3 separate regions of the Homo sapiens genome follow, and regions 2 and 3 are each linked to region 1. Evidence: promoter capture Hi-C in 16 types of primary human blood cells and fetal thymus (Javierre and others, 2016). All regions are on one chromosome and are shown on one strand. Each heading gives the region's core, a stretch centred on a gene start or on the middle of the fragment in contact. The rest is flanking DNA. Distances are from core to core; before and after follow the strand shown.

Evidence for each region. Contacts are between HindIII fragments. The CHiCAGO score rates a contact against its expected background, and 5 or more counts as called.
Region 2: a fragment that was not itself captured here is called in contact with the fragment with the promoter of C19orf25 in region 1 in 4 of 17 cell types (M1 macrophages, M2 macrophages, total B cells and 1 more); the score reaches 7.9 in M1 macrophages.
Region 3: a fragment that was not itself captured here is called in contact with the fragment with the promoter of C19orf25 in region 1 in 1 of 17 cell types (naive CD4 T cells); the score reaches 6.4 in naive CD4 T cells.

Annotation. Positions count from the first base shown.
Region 1 is chr19:1,476,733-1,480,914 of GRCh38, reverse strand. It overlaps C19orf25 (chromosome 19 open reading frame 25), which reads left to right and starts at 1,700. Exons shown (of 3, transcript NM_152482.3): 1 at 1,700-1,752; 2 at 2,010-2,141. The coding sequence starts at 2,012. RefSeq lists enhancers at 1,534-1,653, 2,015-2,515 and a silencer at 1,874-1,923. The HindIII fragment of the contact is 20,570 bases long and covers 1-3,373 here.
Region 2 is chr19:1,779,668-1,783,996 of GRCh38, reverse strand. ONECUT3 (one cut homeobox 3) reads right to left here. Exons shown (of 2, transcript NM_001080488.2): 2 at 3,009-4,329. ATP8B3 (ATPase phospholipid transporting 8B3) reads left to right here. Exons shown (of 29, transcript NM_138813.4): 29 at 727-1,922. The coding sequence ends at 969. Among named protein-coding and RNA genes, the nearest start is that of ONECUT3, 28 kb to the right of the region's middle. The HindIII fragment of the contact is 271 bases long and covers 2,074-2,344 here.
Region 3 is chr19:1,843,438-1,847,791 of GRCh38, reverse strand. The region is part of intron 1 of REXO1 (RNA exonuclease 1 homolog); the gene reads left to right. Among named protein-coding and RNA genes, the nearest start is that of REXO1, 2.9 kb to the left of the region's middle. The HindIII fragment of the contact is 4,342 bases long and covers 144-4,354 here.

The DNA of each region.
Region 1 (4,182 bases), core at 451-2,950:
TGTTGGCCAGGATGGTCTCGATCTCCTGACCTCGTGATTCGCCCACCTCGGCCTCCCAAAGTGCTGGGATTACAGGCTTGAGCCACCGCACCTGGCCCCTTCCTTCCTTTCCTTTTCTTTCTTTCTTTCCTTCTTTCTCTTTCCTTTTTCTTTCTTCCTCTTTCTTTTCTTTTTCTTTCTCTCTCGCCTTCCTTTCTTCCGTTCTTCCTTCTCTTTCCTTCCTTTCCTTTCTTTTCTCCCTTTTCTTCTTTACTTTCTTCTCTTTATTTCCTTTTTCTTTTTTTTCTTTCTCTCTCTCCTTCCTTCCTTTTTCTTCTCCTTCCTTCTTTCCTTTCTTTCTCTTTCTTTCCTTTTCCCTCTCTCTGTCCCTTCCTTCCTTCCTTCTCTCTCAACAATATTTTTTTTTTTGAGACAGAGTCTTGCTCTGTCGCCCAGGCTGGAGTGCAGTGGCACGATCTCGGCTCACTGCAAGCTCTGCCTCTCGGGTTCATGCCATTCTCCTGCCCCAGCCTCCTGAGTAGCTGGGACTACAGGCAACCGCCACCATGCCTGGTTAATTTTGTTTTTCTTTTTGTATTTTTAGTAGAGACAGGGTTTCACCATGTTAGCCAGGATGGTCTTGATCTCCTGACCTCGTGATCCACCCACCTCGGCCTCCCAAAGCGCTGGGATTACAGGCGTGAGCCAACACACCCAGCCTAATTTTTGTATTTTTAGTAGAGACGGGGTCTCACCATGTTGGCCAGGCTGGTCTCAAACTGGCCTCAAGTGATCTGCCCGCCTCGGCCTCCCAAAGTGCTGGGATTACAGGCATGAGCCACCGCGCCCAGGCTGAATTTACAGTTTAAACAGGCGAATTTGGCCGGGCGCGGTGGCTCACGCCCGTAATCCCAGCACTTTGGGAGGCTGAGGCGGGCGGATTGCCTGAGCTCAGGAGTTTGACACCAGCCTGGGCAACACAGTGAAGCCCCATCTCTACTAAAATACAAAAAAAAATTTTGACGGACGTGGTGGCGGGCGCCTGTAGTCCCAGCTACTCGGGAGGCTGAGGCAGGAGAATTGCTTGAACTCGGGAGGCGGAGGTTGCAGTGAGCTGAGATCACGCCACTGCACTCCGGCCTGGGCGACACAGTGAGACTCTGTCTCTAAAAAAACAAAACAAAACGAAATAAACAGGAGAACTTTATGGTATGTAAACTGCATCTCAATAAAGCCCCTGAGAGAGGAAAAGGGCCCTCTGCTCTTTCTGCCTTCCCAGGCATCAGCGGAGAGGAAAAGGTGACCTCCAGCACCGTCCCCGAGGTGGGAGGACCCGCCTTGGCCGGAAGTGGAGGCGCCGCGACCGCCCCGCCCCCGCTGTGTTCCGGCCGCCGAGTGCTCATGCACCACCAGGCTCCCTTAGGTGGACAGCAATTTTGTGCTCCCGTCAGCCACATGGGTGGCGTGTCCCCTAGTGCCGTGTTCCCCTTTTCAGAAAGACGAGCCTCGGATGCTTTTCTACCCAGCCAGTGGAGCCTGGACTCGAACTCGCTCTCATCGTAGCGCGTCCAGGTTCGGGTTCGCCTGAGAGGCTGAGATCCGAGTCTCAAGGGCACTATCCCTTTAAGACGGGGCGGAGCCCCGCGATGAGCGGCGGGCCGGCGGGAGAGGAGGCCGGAAGTGTGTGTCACGTGTTCGGGGACGGGGCGGTGCTCCGACCGGAATCGGAAGTGGCTGCGTCGTCGACGCTGGGCTTTCGGGTCCCGCGCCCAGGTGGGAAGAGGCCGGCGACTGGGGTGACCGCGGGGAAACTGAGGCAGAGGTTGAGCCAGACCCTGAAGCCTTGGCCACCGTGTTTTTGGGCGGAGGGAGGGTCAGGGCCTGGGGCGAGCTCAGAGGGGCGGGACAGGGCGGGCTTCCCCGGGAGCGGGACCGCGACGGGTGCGTACGAGTTCGCTGGGCGGGAGGAGCAGCCCGGGCAAGGGCGGAGAGGTGGACGCCCCGGTCAGCGCCCCCTTCCCCGCCTTCAGAGATGGGCTCCAAGGCAAAGAAGCGCGTGCTGCTGCCCACCCGCCCAGCGCCCCCCACGGTGGAGCAGATCCTGGAGGATGTGCGGGGTGCGCCGGCAGAGGATCCAGTGTTCACCATCCTGGCCCCGGAAGGTAGGGGGAGCCCGGTCCCGGGGAAAAGCGGACCTGAGACCCCGGCAGCAAGGGGACGGGAGAGAAGCACACCCCTAACTCCTGACCCCACGCCCTGGGAACCCCCGCAACATGGGCACGGTCCGTATCCTCTCCGAGTCTCCCTCTACTCCTCCGTAGAGTGGGACCGATTTTCAGAGGGTTCTTCTGACAGGGGTGGAGGCCGGGCGCTGTGGTTCAGGCCTGTAAGCCCAGCACTTTCGGAGGATGAGGCGGGAGGATCGCTTGAGCCCAGGAGTTCGAGACCAGCCTGGCCAACATGGTGAAACCCCGTCTCTGCTAAAAATGAAAAAACAAAACAAAAACAAAAACAAAAACAAAACAGAGTTAGCTGGGCATAGTGGCAGGCGCCTGTAATCTCAGCTACTCGGGAGGCTGAGGCAGGAGAATCGCTTGAACCCGGGATGCAGAGTTTGCAGTGAGCCGAGATCGCACCACTGCACTCCAGCCCAGGTGACAGTGCGAGACTGTCTCAAAAAAAAAAAAAAATTACTGGGTGTGGTGGTGGACACTTGTAGCCCCAGCTTCTTGGAGGCTAAAGTGGGAGGATACAGCCTAGGCAACACAGCCAGACTGTGTCTCAAAAATAAATAAGTGGCCGGTGCGGTGGCTCACGCCTATAATCCCAGCACTTTGGGAGGCCGAGGTGGGTGGATCACTTGAGGTCAGAGGTTGGACACCAGCCTGGCCAACATGGTGGAACCTTGTCTCTACTAAAAATACAAAAATTAGCCGGGTGTGGTGGCATGGGCCTGTAATCCCAGCCACTCAGGAGACTGAGGCAGGAGAATCACTTGAACCTGGGAGTCGGAGGTTGCAGTGAGCTGAGATCACGCAACTGCACTCCAGCCTGGACCACAGTGAGACTCTGTTTCAATAATTATAATAATAATTAATAAATAGAAATAAATAAAGTAAAACAGAGGTGGTAAGCTAGGGCCCCCCAAACCCTGCCCCTGGCTGTTTTTTTAAGGTCTGGGAGCTATGAATGGACTTCACATTTTTAAATGGGGGTGGGTGAAAAAGAACATTTCTGACACCTGAAAGAGGTATGAAATTCAGATTTCAGTGTTGGTAAGTAAAGGTTTACGGCACACAGCCAAATGATTCACATACGGTTAGTGGCTGCTCTCACACCAGAAGGGCAGAGTTGAGTAGTGGGAGCAGAGACTCCAGCCTTTGGCAGGAAAGCTTGTCCACTCCTGATTTACGAGGTGGAAGCTAGTCAGAGACCAAAGGATTCAGCAGTGCAGTTGGGTGAATTTTGTGTTCTGGATGAGGCTCATTCATTCATTCAACAATCCTTTTCTTGAGCACTTCCTGTGTGCTGGGCTCTGCGCTTAGAGCACTGCTAATGGACAAGTGAACAAAAGAAACAAGAATGTCTGCCCCAGGCTGTTCTGGGGCTGGCGGGAAACAAATGAAGATGAATCGGCCAGGTGCGGTGGCTCACACCTGTAATCCCAGCACTTTGGGTGGCTGAGGTGGGCGGATCATTTGAGGTCAGGAGTTCAAGGCCACCCTGGCCAACATGGTGAAACCCCGTCTCTACTGAGAATACAAAAACATTAGCTGGGCATGGTGGCGCATGCCTGTAATCCCTGCTACTTGGGAGGCTGAGGCAGGAGAATTGCTTGAACCCAGGAGGCGGAGGTTGCAGTGAGCTGAGATCGTGCCACTGTACTCCAGCCTGGGTGACAGAGCAAGACTCTATCTCAAACAAAAAAAAAAAAGAAAAAAGAAAATGAGCCATGTGGAATGATAGAAACTGTGAATTTCTAAGGGAACATTTTTAAAAAGTAATATTAGAAAATTCTGGGGCCAGGTGCAGTGGCTCATGCCTGTAATCCCAGGACTTTGGGAGGCTGAGGCAGGAGGATGACTTGAGGCCAGGAGTTCAAGACCAGCCTTGGCAGCATAGCAAAACCTATATCTACCAAAAATACACAAACTAGCTGGGTGTGGTGGCATGCACCTGTGGTCTTAGCTACTCAGGAGGCTG
Region 2 (4,329 bases), core at 960-3,459, 300 kb before region 1:
CAGGCGCAGCGGTTCACACCTGTAATCCCAGCACTTTGAGAGGCTGAAGCAGGTGGCTTGCTTGAGCCTGGGAGGTTGAGGCTGCAGTGAGCTATGATTTTTGCCACTGCACTCCTATCTGGGCAACAGAGCAAGACCCCACCTCAAAAAAAAGGGAGGGGACTTACTAGCCCACGTAACCAAAGCATGCATGGAAAAGCAAGTTGCAGCTGAGATGGGCCCCAGAATTGACTGGAATGGTGTACCTGCCCTGCCACCTCTGTTCTCCCTGCCCAGCTCCTGCCACCTTTACTGCACAGGCTGGGCACCTGGCTGTCCCAGGCTCACCTCTCCTGGATTTGCCACCAAAGGGCAGCCAAGGCACCTGGTGGCTGGTCCAGAGTCGGGGAAGGACTCTGATTGGCTGAGCCAGGGTTAAGTCCCAGGGAAGGACTCTGATTGGGTGGTCCCGAGTTAAGTCCCAGGGAATAACTCTGATTGGCTGATCCAGGGTTAGTTTCCAGGGCAAGGCCAATTAGTGGGTCTTGAAAAGCAAAGGACTAGAGTCCTCCTTAGAACTCAACACTGAGAGTCGAGGACTCTAATTGGCTCAACTTGGGTAGGGAAGAACGTAGCCAATCAATAGTGGCCAAGGGCTTTGAATCCTGCCTCTCCTACTTGGGGGACCTGAGAGCCATCAGCCAAGCATAGGAGTCTGCTTCCCCTGCTCTCCCCTTTGCTCTTCAGGAGGAGAAGGTGGAGGAGGGCCCCAGCGAGGAGATTTTCACCATGGAGCCCTTGCCTCATGTACACCGGGAGTCTCGTGCCCGCCGTTCCAGCTATGCTTTCTCCCACCGTGAGGGATATGCAAACCTCATCACTCAGGGCACAATTCTGCGGAGGGGACCAGGGGTCAGCAGTGACATAGCATCTGAATCCCTAGACCCATCTGATGAAGAGGCAGCTTCGAGCCCAAAAGAGTCACAGTGACACCTCAGGAAGATGTCCTTCCTGGGGAAGAAGAAGCACCAGCCACAGGGGCAGGTGTCCTCCCAGGAAGTACAGCTCCCCCCTACACCTAGCTCATCATTTTCTATGGATAGACAATCCGCTCTTCATCCAGAAAACCAACCTGCCCTCCCCAAATATGTGCTCACCAGCAGCAACAGGCTATCTGAGTCTTTCCAAGAGCAATTGCCAAGGGCACAGGAGAGGTCATTGTCACCCAAGCAGAGGCCACCTTCTCCTGAGAAGTTGCTGTTGACCAAGGAGAGGTCACATTCTTTTCAGGAGAAATCACTGTTGCACAGAGAAAGCCAGCTGTCGTCATTTGAGAGCCAGCCACAGCCTCTGGGGAGCCAGTCATTTCTTTCAGGCCAGCTGACGTTGGAGAGCCAGCCAGACTCCTCGGAGGAGAAGTCAGCATTTTTGAAGCCCTCCACACCGTTCCGGAAGAGCTGGCAAAAGGAGCCTCACACCCCCAAGGAGGGGACGGTGCCACTTCCAGACAAGACCCACAAATCTCAGGTGGAGACTCTGCCACCAAGTCTGGAAGAATCGTCCACGTCCACGAGCGAGCAGCCTATGGAGGTGGAGCTGTGGCCCGCGGAGAAGCAGTCATCATCATCCATGGAGTGGCTGCTGGTGCCCGGGGAGGAGCAGCTATCCTTGCCCCCAGAGGAGCAGTCATTGCCCTCTGCGGAGGGGACCAGGGTTCAGCAGTGACGTAGCATCTGAATCCCTAGACCCATCTGATGAAGAGGCATCTTCGAGCCCAAAGGAGTCACGCTGGCATATCAGGAAGATGTCCTTCCTGGGAAGAAGAAGCTCCAGCCAGTTCTGCTGCAAGTCAACCAGCATGCAGGGGGCCTTCCTCTAAAGACAAGGACTCCACATGCTTTTCTTTTTCTAATAAACCAGGGTCCATCTGACCCCAGCGCTAATTCAGGCTCCCTCTTTCCCTACACTTTTTTTGTGATGGAATATTCCTTCCCGGTTTTTAAAATCAAAACACTGACCTCTAGTGGTCCAGCCGGGTATTTGCAGGGAAAACTTTCCTTCTTCATGCTGGGGTAAGATAATGTGGGTAAAGCTTCATTGCTCTCAAAAGTTGCTTATTAAAAGCTGTGGCTCCCCCGCTGCCTGACAGCTGGCCCCTCCCAAGAAAGTTTATAAATTCCAGTTCTTGTACCATCTAGCTTCTTCCTCTATCGGGAAGCCCTGGTTTCTCCCATTCAAATACACCTTCATTCACTGGGGCCTCCGTTCACTTTAGACTCCAGAAAGCAATGAGCAGTGATGTCACAGAAGCAGGTCCTGACAAGGTGTGCATCTTGGGGCTTGGTTGACTCAAAGGCGCCAAGCTTTTCCTTCTAAGGCGCCAAGCTTTTCTTTCTGATTCTTTTTTTTTTTTTTTTTTTGAGACGGAGTCTCACTCTGTCGCCCAGGCTGGAGTGCAGTGGCGCGATCTCGGCTCACTGCAAGCTCCACCTTCCGGGTTCACAGCATTCTCCTGCCTCAGCCTCCTGAGTAGCTGGGAATACAGGCGCCCACCACCATGCCTGGCTAATTTTTTGTATTTTTTAGTAGAGACGGGGTTTCACCGTGTTAGCCAGGATGGTCTTGATCTCCTGACCTCGTGATCCGCCTGCCTTGGCCTCCCAAAGTGCTGGGATTACAGGTGTGAGCCACCGCGCCTGGCCTCTTTCTGATTCTTACCATTCCCTGTGGGTGGTGGACTTGTGTGGGTGGTGGAGTTGTGTGGATTGTGGAGGCTCAGAGCTGGCCACTGGCCCAGGAAGAAGACGGGACTCAGAGCAGAGAGGGGCGAGCTGGGTGGAAGCAAAGTCCGTCTTCCCTGCACTCCGGTCCTCCCTCCCCAGCCTCGAGGTGGGCGAGTTCCATTCCCGCCCCCTATCTGTGCCCGACCCGTCAGCTAACACACACGCCCAGGTGAGTGACTAGAAAATAATTTATTGAAGAAAAACAAATCAACAAACCCAGCACAGCAATGGTTAACAATGACGAGATTTTTTTTTTTTTTTAGCTTTTAAGCCTGTCGCCCAAGGGTGAAGGTGGAAAAGGGCTTCTCTCCCCTGTCCCTGGAGGGGAGGGGACTTTGGAGGGTCCAAGTGGTGTCTCCCCTGAAAGCAGCCCTCAGTTCCAGTCTATTCAAAACACTCAAGGCCGCAGGGCCTCCTGGCTCTTCCGTCACCCCCGGCTGAGCTCATTCCACCAAAACCAGCCCCTGCGTGGTCTGACAGGGCCACGAGGAGGAGCCCCAGGAGTCTACTGGCCTGATTTTGCTTAAACCGCTTGGGGCAGAGAATGTGAAATGGCCCAAGCTCCTGCTGGTGCAAGGAGCATCCTGGCCCCGGCATCATTTCAGATTTGAGGTCAGCTGAGCCCTCAGCCCCAGGCCCAGCCCTCCAGACCAGGGCTTGCTGCTTTATGGGGTGAGAAGCACCCCGTTTAGCTACCCCGCCCCCCCCTACTGGGGCCTGTCCCAAAAGCGGCCCCTCTCATCTCTCCCCTGCCGCCCTCTCCTCCAGCCTCTGTTCCCAAGCTGGCACATCTGTGCCCCTTTCCACCTCCAGGGACTATCTGGGGATGGCTCAGGGACGTGGCCTCATGGCACAAGAGGAGTCAGAGGCAGAGGACATTGTCCCAGAGCCCCCTTTGATGATTTTGGGGAGTCCTCTGTTCTGTAGGCTCCGAAAGTGGGCTGGGAGGGAGGGGTCTCTGCAGGCGTACACCCCCTGCCTCCCGGGCTGGACAGAAAGGCGGACTCATGCCCAGCCCAGGGAGGGAGGCCGAGGCTGTCTGGGTGGAGGTGGGGGGGGAGGGGGTGCTGGTGCCTGCTGTTGGGGCCCTCAGGAGGGTCCTTCAGATCTCAGGAAGTTGGGGCACACTCCCGTCCCCCACCACCCTGGGCAACAAGACAAGAATAGGCTGATTGTCTGTCTCCTCTGAACAAGACACTTGGGAATTCATGCTAGAGTGAAAGCAACCGGGTGATGGGGGGTTGGGGGGGTCTAAGATATCGATGACACCAGAGTGCCCCCAAGAACCAGGAACTGAGGGGGGGACGCTCGGTGGCTCCCGCCTGGCTGGGGCAGGCAGGTGGCATCTCGGGTGGAGATGGACAGGCAGGTGGAGGAGACCCGGCTACTGAGGCTCTGTTCCCGCCCCCTCTACCTGGGGCCCCGTCCACCTGTCCCGGCTGGACACAGTTCCTTAGAAAGGAGGAAAGAAACAGTAACGAAAAACCACTGAACAGCACCGATCAGGCACCAGACACACAGATGCGACACGGAACCGGGCCACGCCCCCCGCCCCCCACCCTGACCA
Region 3 (4,354 bases), core at 1,065-3,564, 370 kb before region 1:
TATTTCCATGACGTTTCCTCCGGCCGCGCCTCTGGCAGCGGCCACCTCAGTCTCCAGTCGTTGAGTTAGGATGGTCCGAGGATCGTCTCTTGTGTTTGTCGAGCCCTGTGTCCAGCATGACTGGCAGGGAGGAAGTCAAAGCTTACTCGAGTGGGCTCCGAGGAATTCCATGCTTTTGGTCGGGCAGAGGACGTTGGTGGACTCCACCTCACAGCGTCATGGTGGTTTTCATCGTCATGGCAGCGTTTCTTGGAGGAGATGTGGGATTTGGATTGGAGAAAAAGAGGGACATCGCAAGGAAAGTCGTGGAGGGAGGGTTATCGAGTGTGATGTCATTCAGACTCCCCTGTTACCTCTGTCCCTTGATAGTGGCTCTCTGCTTCACCCAGCCCCTGACTTCCTTCGTCCCAGATTTCCTCATTGGGCGTGAGTTTCAAGCACTGTTTTTACTTTAACCATGAAACAGTCTCAGCTCAGAACCTTTTCCTGCAAAAGAGAAACATCTTCTCTAGGATTTAAGAATAGGTTTATTTTCCTGTTTTGCCAGAAAAGGTAGCATTTTTTTCTGATTTCCCTGATAAGTGTGCTTGGGACACCTGCACCTGTGGGCGGTTGTTTGCAGGTGGACAGATGCAAGCAATCACTTGTCAGCTCCCCACAGCCCAGCGTCTTCGCTGTGTTTGAGGCGGGGGATTCAGAGCTGCGTACGATGCCGGCTGTGCTCTCAGGGACCTGCCGACAGCTGTGCCTACAGATCCCGTAGCATAGGTCGTGATGTCCTGGGAGCACGCAGCCGGCTTTGGCGGGGGCTGGGAGTTGGTGAAGAAGGCAACGCGTGGGAGAGGCTTCTCGGAGGCTGTGACACCAGACTCACGATGCTCATTTTAACCCTATTTTTAGAGACAGGGTCTCACTCTATAGTCCAGGCTGGAGTGCAGTGGTGCGATCACAGCTCTTTGAGGCCTCGACCTCCTGGGCTCAAGGGATCCTCCTGCCTGAACCTCCTGAGTAGCTGGGACTATGGGCGGCGGGTGCCACCAAGCCTGGCTAACTTTGTATGTTTTCGTGGAGATAGGGTCTCGCTATGTTGTCCAGGCTTGTCTCAAAACTCCTGGCCTCGAGCCGACCTCCTGCTTCGGCCTCCCAAAGTGCTGGGGTTACAGGTGTGAGCTACTGCACCCGGCGCAAGTCAGGCTTATGATATCTGTCTGCATCCCAAATGGCTCATTTGTTTCCCAAAGGCTTATTTTTGAGGGTCCCTTTGGTGATGTCGTCTTCCTGTCTGCCCCCCGTTCCTATGGGAAAAAGGCAGCTGCCTGCCTCTTACCATGGCGTGTCTGCATTTCCCTTTTGCTGGTGAGAATGAACTCCTTTTCCCATCTCTGGTGGGGTGGTAGGGCTTCTTGTTACTGTCTGGTAGAAGACTGCCTCCCCCCGCAGAAGGCAGGATCCATCTTCCTTGCGGTGAGGTTTCTCTGACCCTCTGTTTCCGCCTCCGTGACATGTTCATCAGGCTGCCCTCTGAGGACAGGGGGGGATGCATGTCCCATGTCCACACCTCCAGATTTACACACACCCAGTTTCCTATGAGATTTGAAGAGGCTGGCGTGATCTAGCCTTTGCCATGTCTTCTCAAGGGGATTTTAGGGTGCACAGGGCAGCGGCCTCCAGAGAGGAGATAGACAGGAACGCTGGCCTCCCAGGATTGAGAGTGGACAGAGGTTCAGGTGAAAAGCCCTCAGCTAGCCCTGGAGCACCTGTGGGGCCATGCTCTGTGCTGGACACGCGCTGCATGGTGACCCTGTGAGCTATTTGCTGCCGGTGGGGAAACGGAGGCTTATCGAGGAACGTGTTTTGCCCATACTACCACCTGGCCAGGGCAGGGCTGGAGCCTCCAGGGCCTCTGGGAGAAGGAGAGGGCATCTGATGAGGGCACCAAGGCAGGCAGGGTTGGGAGGCTTGGCGGAGCTGCGACGGGAACAGGAAGGTGGCTGGTGCTCCTGGGCCCTGGGTCACAGGCTCAGCGGGTCATTGGCGACCTTGAGCAGCACTGCTGAAGGACTCAGGTTTCCTTCTGGGCTCTTATCCCTGGACCTGCTCAGCCATTTTATTTAATGAATTAATTTTTGAGACAGGGTCTCACTTTATCACCCAGGCTGGAGTGCAGTGGTGCGATCACAGCTTACTGCAGCCTCGACCTCCTGGACTCAAGGGATCCACCTGGCTCAGCCTCCTGACTAGCTGAGACCACAGGCATGTGACATCACACCTCGCTAATGTTTAAAATTTTTGCCGAGACGGGGTCTCACTTTGTTGCCCATGCTGGTCTTGAGCTCCTGGACTCAAGCGATCCTCTCTCCTCAGCCTCCTGAAGTGCTGGGATGACAGGCGTGAAGCACCGCGCTGGGCTGCACAGCCATTTCAGAGCCGGCTGGACCTGCCCAGGGTGGCTTGGAGGGATGGTCCAGCAGCCCTTACGGCGGGCACCGTGTAGCCCTGGGACGCAGGGATGTGCATCCCCGGCCTAGAGGGGCACGTTCTATCCCAGCCTTGTGAGTTGGGAATGAGCGTTACTATCCCCCCAGTGGCCGCTCTCTGCTGCCTGGGCCTTGGCTGCAGCCTGGTGGTAGGTGAGGGGCCTCGGTTGTCTATGTGGAGTGGGCAGGGCTAGATCCCACCTTCCTCCCATCTGACCTCAGAACCCAGGCCTCTGCCCACTGCCCCGCACTCCCTGTGGTGTCTCAGGGAGTCTGTGTCCTACTGAGAGGCAGGACACTGTCTTCCAGGAGAGGGAACCCTTCCGGGGAGGATTGCAGGAAAGTCCAGGGCTCTCCAGAGGTGCGGTGGGCCCCAGCTCAGGGCTTCACAGCTCCGGCAGGAACGTGCTCCCAGATGATGCTTCTCCTGAGGGAGGCAGAGGCTGAGGGCACCACGTTGAGGGGATGCTAGTGCTGCGCCACAGGCTGACTCAGGCCCCAGCAGGACAGTCCCAGGCCTGGGGAAGGGGCCATCCTATACTGCAAAGTGAGCGGCAGACGTGTGTGCGGGGCGCACAGCTCCTGCCCTCGGGGATCCCGCAGTCGGGTTCAGGATCTGGCAGCCCGGTGCCAGTGGTTCTGGGTGGGGCTGTTGGCGGCGTCCCAGCTGGGGCTCCAGGCGACTCTCCAGAACTGCATCTGTAGAGGGCAGGAGTCCTGGGGTAGAGGCGCTCAGGGAGCAGCCCCAGGTACATGGGGAGCCCTGAAGCCCACCCACTGTGTACCCAGTATCTACTGAAGCCCACCCACCGTGTACCCAATATCTCCTGAAGCCCAGCCACCATGTACCCAGTATCTCCTGAGCCTTCTAGCAGAGTCGGGTCAGGCAGGGGTCCTCCTCCTTCTGGCTCTTCAGATGTGGCCCCTCACATGGGCTCTGGGGTCCCTACCTCTTGACTTGGCCACTACCACAGCAGTACTGGGCGGACTCTGCCTGTGACCCCCAAACAGCAGTGGGAGTGGCTCTTCCCAGTTTACAGATGAGGAAACTGAGGCCCAGCGCCGGGAGGCTGCTCACCTGTGTACGCGTGGCTGGTAACTGGCAGTGCTGGGTTGGATGTGGGTGGGCCGGGGCCCTGCCTGCCTCCTCTGCCGTTTTTGCTGCCAGCCTCTGTGGGCTGGGCACAGAAGGGAACTTGAAACCTTCCAAGGATGGGCCTGAAGCAGGCCTGGCTCTCCGGTGTCGGTGACAGCCTCCCATACCCCTGCTAGGCAGGTGAGCCCTGGGATCCTACTGATCTGTTAGGGCTTGCCAGCTCTCCTCGGAAACTCTGAGGCCCCGAGTCAGGCGAGAAGGGAGAAGGAGGCCAAGAATGGCGCCTCGCTGCAGAGGATGGCTTGCCTTCATTTCCTCTGGCCTCTCAGGAGGGTCAGGAGCTCCCGCTGGCTGCGTCCTGTGCTGCCTCCTCCTGGTGGATGGGAGACAGCCGGCTTTCCGTGGGGCAGTGAAGGCACCGTCTGACCACCTGTGTCACCTTCAGAGACGTGACAGTGTGTGCTCTCCTCGGTCCGACTTTTCATCCTCAGTGAGCCGCGTCCAGGAAGGAATGGACTCTAGGGGAGAACCCCCGCAGCCAGCAGTATTGTCTTTTGGTTCCCCAGGCCTGACCAGGGCGTATGAGGACCCGGGGGTGATTTTACCAGCGGGTGGCAGGTGGGCAATCGGGCCACCGGGGCCGCCTGCCTGCCTGGCCTGGAGTGGCAGCTATGGAGCTTGCTGGAGGGACGGTTGGTGCTAGGGACACTGGGGGCCAGATTGTCGTCTGGTGGGCTGTCCTTTGCGTTGTAGGATGTTGAGCAGCGTCCCTGGGCTTCCC